Linked DNA regions of Homo sapiens: regions 1 and 3 are each linked to region 2. Evidence: promoter capture Hi-C in 16 types of primary human blood cells and fetal thymus (Javierre and others, 2016). All regions are on one chromosome and are shown on one strand. The core of a region is centred on a gene start or on the middle of the fragment in contact, and the rest is flanking DNA. Distances in the headings are between cores, read along the strand shown. Region 1 has its middle 240 kb from the start of SHOX2. Region 2 holds the start of GFM1 (G elongation factor mitochondrial 1). Region 3 overlaps IQCJ-SCHIP1 (IQCJ-SCHIP1 readthrough).

Region 1 (2,728 bases), core at 176-2,675, 780 kb before region 2:
CTACTGTACACACATGCTTCCAAAAGAGATGAATTATAATTCTCCTTCCCAATTCATCCATACATACTAGGTAAAGAAAAGGAGACAACTCACAAACAACTAAAATTCAGATAAAACCCTGCTTACTGTTATAAATAAGGCCCCACTCAGTTTAGTTCCACTTTTCCCGTGTATATTTCCTTAGAACAGCATTTTAAAACAGCAAATTGAGCTCCTTCAATCAATTGGGACCAGTTGGTGAATCAGGAGCACTGACTTTTTAAAAAACACGAAATAAAAGAGAATAGAAAAACATCACATGTGCTAGCGTATAAGTAATTATATGTATATGTGTGTGTGTGTGTGTGTGTGTGTGTGTGTGTTCACTTGGCCTTAATGTAAAATAGTCAAAATAGTTTTAAATCCACTGCTTTGAATTTCATTTCTTATGTTCAATTTCACAGTAAACCCTCTTTCTTTTCATTTGAGGAGGAAGCAGGGAGGTCTGGAGTTGGGACAGACCAGGGTAATGGAAGACATCAAGAATCTGAAAGATGAATGAGATCAAGACTTAGAAACAGGCAGTCAAGGGAGGAAAAACAAGTAGCAAAGCTGGATCTGGCAAGTACAGTAGGTCAAATACGACACTGAAGATGCCAGGCAAGTCCAGTTGAAGGACTAGGTTCCATGTCTCTGGAATTTCTATATTAGAGGGAGCTCAGAAGTGGCAATCTCATTGGAAGGGGTGTTGGTGGCTTAAAGCTGTATGTGCATAGTAAACTTGGATTGTATCTTCTCAGGGTGGGTCTATTAAGTTGTGATGAAAATTATGAGGAAACTAAAGCACCCCCAACCCACGCCACCAAGTCATCCCCTTGGTACCACCTCTAGACCAAAGGAAACAGATGTCAAAGTCTAAATGAATTCTGAGGCCCAGGCCCCAGATGAAATTCTTACCCTGGCCCTGCTGCTTCTCCAGCTGCCTTCAGGAATGCCCTCCCCCACCAGCAGGGGGCGTGGCAGCCTCGGAGGAGGCCCACTCACTGGCCACCCCACAGGGAGTTCTGCGTGAGACCTAACAACTACCTGAAATAGGCCACTAACAAAGCCGACAGGGAGTAGAAATTGATGTAAGAGATATTACCGAGGTGGAACTGACAGCTCTTAAATTTGCTGGAAGTAGGGGGTTGGGTAGTAAGATAGACAGAGCACTCTGAGATGGCTAAGCAATGTGGAGTCTGAGTTACTGGGTGGTCTTCCCTTTGGACAGGCTGCGTCCCAAGGTCACAGGGCTACAGTGAGTTACTCACCGGGGACAGCCTGAGTGAGTCTATTAGAAACAACTCAGGAAGACATAATGGGATTGAAGATCTCCACTGTGAGGGTCAAAGAACTGGAGCAGAAAATTTGCTTTACAATAATCAAAGACTATTAGGACCGTCATGCTGCATCATAATAATATATCCAAATCCTGCATGTGGCCACATGAGACAAGGTCTGTAAATCCACTCAGCCCAGTACACGGCTCCTAATAGAGGGTCAGTCTATGCTAGTTTCATTCCAGTGTATCATGTCCAGTCACCAAAACATGGACATCATACCATTTGAGTCTCAAAACAACCATGTAAGAGAAATAAAAGAATAACGTTAACTCCATTTTAGAGTATAAAACTAAGGCCTCCCTCATTTAAGTGATGTTTCACAAACCCAATAAGGAGGGTTTTGACTTTTAACTTAAGTTTTCTACTGCCTCACTTTGTGGAAAACCAGCATAGGGAGTTTACTCCAACATTCAGGACCAAGGAAACATGGATCAGTTCCTGAGAAATAAGAAATCATTGGTATCAGACAAATTCAAGTAAGCAGCTCCATGTATGTGGCTAAGTAAGTAGTGGATTATTTAAACTCTTGCAGAGATATTGCTTATCAGCTGACAACAAACCTGAGGGTGCAAAACAAAGCCTCAGAAGCAAACAATCGAAGAGGAAAACAATCTGGCAAATATCATTAAACTATTTTTAAAATAGTGTATCTTTTAAACTAAGGGATGTTGTACAAATACTTTTATATTTTATTCACATATTTGTTATTGCATTTTTCCTATTCTATATTTGATTTGTTCATTATAAATTGAAGTTAAATATGCAAATACAGAAGCCCCTGCCTCCTGGTACCTGAAAAGGTTTTAAGTCCCCTTAAAATATCGACGTATCGACATTATAAGTAGTGAAGGATAAAAGTTTCTTTTTTTTTTTTTTTTTGGAGATGGAGTCTCACTCTATTCCACCACGCCCAGCTAATTTTTGTATTTTTAGTAGAGACAAGGTTTCACCATGTTGGCCAGGCTGGTCTGGAACTCCTGACCTCAGGTGATCTGCCCACCTCGGCCCTCCAAATTACTGGGATTACAGGCGTGAGCCACTGCTCTTGGCCTGATAAAAGTTTCTATTATCACTTCAACACCAAAAAGAAATGAAACTAAAATGAGAAAAAGAAAACAAGTCTGATCCTATATATAACAAAGTATAGATGACAATTGCAACTAGTTGCCAATTCTTGGAAGGAACAAAAAAATGTATCAGGTGTTGATTGGTTTCTCTGGATTTAATACAGCTTTCATTCAAACCAATAGCAAAATAACAGCATTCTTCACTTTATCCATGCCCAGAAGATCCCAGGAAAGGTCAGAAATTTTCACAAATATACCCAAGAACTTCAGCAATTTTTCCAGGAAAATAAAATGAGGCTT
Region 2 (2,743 bases), core at 80-2,579:
CTCTAGACCCTGTTCTCCTGCCTCACCCATAAAGGGAATTCCCTAGAGATACTAAAGGCTGTCTGTCTCTCTTCTGAGCAGCCCACTCTGCCTCTCAGAGTGTACTTTTGGTTTACAATAAACTTTTTTGCCTACTCTTACTTTGTACTTGCTTTCAAATTCTTTTGTGTGGTGAAGTCAAGCACCTGAACCGGCCCACTGACAACAGCAAGGATAGAAGCAGTGAGATCGGTTACAAGGCTATTACAATAGTTCCCTCCAGAAACGGCAGTACTGAGAGGTGGGGAGAAGTAAGTTCTGGATTTTCTTTTTTTTTTTTTTTTTTTGAGACTCGCTCTGTCACCCAGGGTGGAGTGCAGTGGCGTGATCTCGGCTCACTGCAAGCTCCGCCTCCTGGGTTCACACCATTCTCCTGCCTCAGCCTCCCGAGTAGCTGGGACTACAGGCGCCCGCCACCGCGCCCGGCTAATTTTTTTTTGTATTTTTAGTAGAGACGGGGTTTCACTGTGTTAGCCAGGATGGTCTCCATCTCATGACCTCGTGATCTGCCCGCCTCGGCCTTCCAAAGTGCTGGGACTACAGGTGTGAGCCACCGCGTCCGGCCCTGGATGTCTTTTTGAAAGTAGAGCTTACAGGATATGCTGACTGATTAGACCGGAGATGTCACAGCATGGTGTCAAAGCGACTAATATTTTTGGCTAGAATCACTAAAGTTTACATTTATGAGATGGATAAGACTGTGGAAGGTTTGGGGAAGAAGATCCGAAGCTCAGTTTTGGACCTGTTAGGTTCAACATGCCTCTTAACACATCCAAGCAGAATGGTCAAGGATGCAGTCTTCCACATGGACAGGACATGAAATGTCTGACATCGAACAATAACAAATAACATTTTGACATGAGGAAAAGTATTTGTAATTGTAATTGATAGTTCATTCACTATAATTTGTCCACGTTCTTTTTCAGGCCATGTCATATATATACCTATTAATATTTGTAATAGACAATTTTGCTCTTTTCTACTTAAATTGTTATATACATTTCTCCACATTGCTTTATAGGCCTAACAACCATGTTTAAATTCTGTATCTTCATACAGAGGTAATATTTAAAAAAGAAGACGAAGACAAAAGGACTCCCTTCCCTCACCCATATACCTATGCCGTCTTACTGGGAGCAAACACTTCTTTAGCTCCGCAAAGCGATTGCACTTTCTCTTCCAAGTCGGCAGACGGCGCGCGAGCAGCGTAGGCACTGCTCCGCCTCCAATCCAGTTGCTCTTCTTTCTTTTCCTCACTCTCTTTTTCCTCGCGTCCTTTGCCCCGGAAGTGCTCTTACAACATTGGCTGCCGGCGTGACTTTGACCGCTTCCCGGTGCGTTACCGGCAGCTGAACCCACCCGGCGCCACGGGACTTTGACGCGTGCTCTGCGCTTGCCATGAGACTCCTGGGAGCTGCAGCCGTCGCGGCTCTGGGGCGCGGAAGGGCCCCCGCCTCCCTAGGCTGGCAGAGGAAGCAGGTACCGGAGCATAGAGAGGCTAAATCGGGACCATTCCCGGAACCTTGTGATCCCTTCTGGGCAATGGAAGGCCGTGACACCCCCTGGGTCCTCATGACTGACAGCTCCGAATACTGGCAGTCGCTCGTCAGTGCTGAAAAGCACCTCGGTGCCTGCACATTAGCTCGTTAGCTCGTTTGTTTCGCTCTCTGGTATCCCTAGGGTTTAATCAACTAAAAGTGTCTGTCACTCAGATACTTTGATATTTTATCCACCTTTTCTAAGGTTTTTTTTTTTTTTTTTTGCCTCTCTTTTCCCGTGAATAATTGTGCATTTTGGATGTGCAGTCCTATAGGGAAAGGTTTATATTGTATCTTCATTCCATCTAATAGGGATCCCCATCCCCTGCCACCAGAGTAAAGTTAAAACAAGCTTCATGAATTGTTTTTGTTTGGAGGGAATTGGAAATCTTTGGGGGCTGTCTTGGAGCTACTAGCATCACTGCATAGAGCATATAAGTTCTCAAACATATTTGTCATCTGTGAACTACAATAAAGGAGAAAGGGAAAAAAATTAAGTTAAATTTAAGCTAAAATTTGTATTTTCTATTAAAGTATTTTTTGGAGCTGTCTTTGTGATTTTATCTGCCCCAGTGTGTATTTTCAAATCTGCAGTAAAAAGTGTCTCCCATTTTAATTAAATTTAACTTATTCATTAATTAATTTTAAAAGAATACGTCTTTACTGTCTTGTTTTGAAGTCTGTCCTCTGATTACAAGAGTTCCAGGCTTAAAGGTTTCCCCTGGTGCCTTTCTCAAGCTATCTCATATCCAGTGAGATTTCTTGGAGGAATAATGTCCACCATACTCCTTTTAATTGTCTGTTGTTCTCTCTTATAAAAGGTGCATAGAATTGAGCTCTCGTATTTTTTTCAGGTTAATTGGAAGGCCTGCCGATGGTCTTCATCAGGGGTGATTCCTAATGAAAAAATACGAAATATTGGAATCTCAGCTCACATTGATTCTGGGAAAACTACATTAACAGAACGAGTCCTTTACTACACTGGCAGAATTGCAAAGATGCATGAGGTATATATTCACGGTTGATTCCGGATTAATTAGAACCAGATTTTAATTGTTTTGTTGCTATTATTTAATAAAGCTTATAAACCTGAAAGATTAAAACAATGGTAACAGCGGACTTTTGACAGTTAGGCTTATCTGAAAGTTGCTTAAGTTAAGTATCTG
Region 3 (2,777 bases), core at 213-2,712, 610 kb after region 2:
AGGGAGGCCAGTGTGTTTAGTATTTTGTCTAAAGCTACAGCTCATGAGAGGTAAACTAGGCAAGAACCTCTATGACTCTAAGCATACTTTATCATGAGATAAAACTTTTTCTTCTTTGAGCTATTTCTGGGATGCAATGTTAGAAGAATTACATTTGTTAATCACCTACTTGTCATATATCCCAGAACTGTGGAGTGGTCACTGCCCTCAAGGATTTTACATTCTAGTGGGGGAAGAGGACTTGTTTGAAAAGAAGCATTTGGATTAGCCTAATCTGATACTCTTCTTTTTGGATGTTTAATAGTATTGCAGGACCACTATTTTCTTTCTTAGACTCAGTAACCCTGGGTGCATTATTTCTGAAGCACCTTCTCAGTCCTCATAAAGAAAAGAGTGTTATAGATCCAGGACCCAAATTGCCCAAATTCTCATGTGTGAGAACATTGACATTCTTGACAGTCTGCAAAGTTATGGGTATTTGAGAAGAGACCTATGGAAAGAGCCAAGAGAGCATAGGCCCTGGTGCGTAGGAAGCATCATCCATCAGTGTGGCAGTGAAGTCGAGAGCTACAAACCGGGCGGATACTGGAGTGGAGGGGAAGCAGGCTGGAAAGAGAGGGCAGTTTCTGTGGGAAACCTGCCTGTTGCATGCAGTGGCCCCGTATTGACATTTGAACAAGTTTGTATCAGGATACAGGGTTGGGATAGATAACAAATGATGCAAATATGATATATCTGTTAGGATAGCTTTTAGCTAGCTGCATATAGAAAAATCAACTAACAGACTGAAATAAGTAGGGGTTCTACTTCTCCACTCACAGTCAGTATATGACAAGCCAAACCCACTGTCTCCATCCTGTTTCTCTATTTCTGCCTTTTGCTGAACCGTAAGGAGGGAACAAACGTAATGGGGAGGCAGGGATCTGCTCTGAGTTTTGGGAATGATGATCAGTTCCCATCTTGTTTCCTGAGACCGGCCAGGACTGTTTGGTTGTAAGTATCAGAAACTCAGCTCAAACTAATTTATAGATGTAAAAAAGATCATATTGAATCACATAACAGAAATACCCATGGTCTAACGTGCTTTAAGCACACTGAAACCCGGGCGATTGGGCAAGGTTATCAGGCATCTGTCTTTCTTCTTCTATAAACTCTGCTCTTTCCATGATTCATTCTCATGTGGGTTCTCACAACATTGCAACAAAGTGGCCACTGCCAGCTCTAGGCTTGCAGGTAGTTTCAGCTCTACTTGCTGAAACTTTAGATGAAAAAGAGGGCCTTTTTCTCATAGTCTCAGTACAATCCCCAGAGCAGCCTTTAATAGACCTGGCTTGAACCATGTGTGCATCTCCAAACTGAACCAACCACGGCCCTCTGGCTAGTCAGCCCGGGGGAATGGACCACCCTCTACAGTGATAGGGTAGGATCTGTTTCATCCAAAGCTCGTGGGTAAAGAGTTGGTGGATCCGCAAAACCAATGAAAAGGAGAAATTAATATTGGGCACGCAAAATCTACCCATGTGATAATCATGGTGCCTCCCTCACAGTTCACTTGTGGTAAGGATTGAATGAGAGAATCAACACAAAAAAGAGCTCTATGTATGTCAGCTATTGTTTCCAAGATACTCAGATTCAATGTATCCTCTCTGATGGTGTCCTCTTTTGTCCATCCCTAAATTCAGCCTACTTGAGTTATAATGTATTTTGAATTTTTTATAATTGTTTGGTAACATATAAAAAATAGTACTTTCTCATAAAAAATCAAGATTTCTGGCTGTTCTTGAAAAGTTGAAACCAATTATCAACTGCACCAAAGCAGGGTTGCCCACACTGCCCAGTCTGTGCCCCACTGCACAGTCTGCCCCCAGCCTGACCCCAGGTGGCTTCTGAGAGCCTCTTGCCATCTTTGTAGCCTCAGACTTACTGCTCTTCTCTGGGATCCTCCTGCTTCCTGCCTGGTGTCTTCACTTCTGTGCCTTTGCCCAAAGATCTTCTTCCTCTCCATCAATCTCAATCCCATCCATGCTTCAGGACTAATTAAAATACTAGGACTCCCTCAAGCCTTCTCTAAGCACCCTAGCTCTCTGGGAACCCTCTCCTCTCCTCTTCTAGATAAACATATGCATTGGCAACCCGGACTGCACTGGCTGTGAGTCCCCCAAGTGGCTGTGAGTGCATGACAGAGCCAACCGCACTGCAAAACACACAGGGATATACAGAAAAAGGGCAGAGGCAGGCAGATTGTGCCACCCCTGCTATAAGAGAAGATACACAGGAACTGACCTAGCAAAAAGAAAAATTGTTGAAAATGTATTTGTCATCTGTTTAGAAGTAAACCCTTACACTTTATTTATAATTCAAAATATAGGAGCACACAACATGTGCTTTCTTACTTCAACAAGCCTTTAAATAATTATAATGAATAGCATTGTCTAGTTTCAAAAAAAAAATGTCAAGGTAGTGGGTAATTTACTCTGTAGCCACAAAGGAGACTTGTGAACAAGAATTATGGTAAATCTAGGAGAAGAAGGCTGAAAGTGATTCCTTATGATTGAGAGATGAGGTGCTTCTAAATTTTACTTTAGTTCCCTCTTACAGTAAAATAACATCTGGAGATGGTATTAAGACAGCTTAATACTGGAACAATTTAATCTTTGAAGGTCATGTTGTAGGAATCGCCAAGGGGAGTAAATAACATGTAAACACTTTTCTATGATACAGAGAATAACATAGCATAGTTCCATCATTAAAAAACAATGTAGCAATTTTGGGTAATA

What was found. Contacts are between HindIII fragments. The CHiCAGO score rates a contact against its expected background, and 5 or more counts as called.
Region 1: a fragment that was not itself captured here is called in contact with the fragment with the promoter of GFM1 in region 2 in 1 of 17 cell types (M2 macrophages); the score reaches 7.4 in M2 macrophages.
Region 3: a contact is called between a fragment that was not itself captured here and the fragment with the promoter of GFM1 in region 2, in 1 of 17 cell types (M0 macrophages). The highest score is 5.4, in M0 macrophages.

What each region holds. Positions count from the first base shown.
Region 1 is chr3:157,864,544-157,867,271 of GRCh38, forward strand. No RefSeq gene overlaps it. Among named protein-coding and RNA genes, the nearest start is that of SHOX2, 240 kb to the right of the region's middle. The HindIII fragment of the contact is 3,328 bases long and covers 1-2,728 here.
Region 2 is chr3:158,643,198-158,645,940 of GRCh38, forward strand. GFM1 (G elongation factor mitochondrial 1) reads left to right here and starts at 1,330. Exons shown (of 18, transcript NM_024996.7): 1 at 1,330-1,518; 2 at 2,432-2,584. The coding sequence starts at 1,438. The HindIII fragment of the contact is 2,960 bases long and covers 1-1,927 here.
Region 3 is chr3:159,256,978-159,259,754 of GRCh38, forward strand. The region is part of intron 3 of IQCJ-SCHIP1 (IQCJ-SCHIP1 readthrough); the gene reads left to right. The region is part of intron 3 of IQCJ (IQ motif containing J); the gene reads left to right. Among named protein-coding and RNA genes, the nearest start is that of SCHIP1, 15 kb to the right of the region's middle. The HindIII fragment of the contact is 4,962 bases long and covers 1-2,777 here.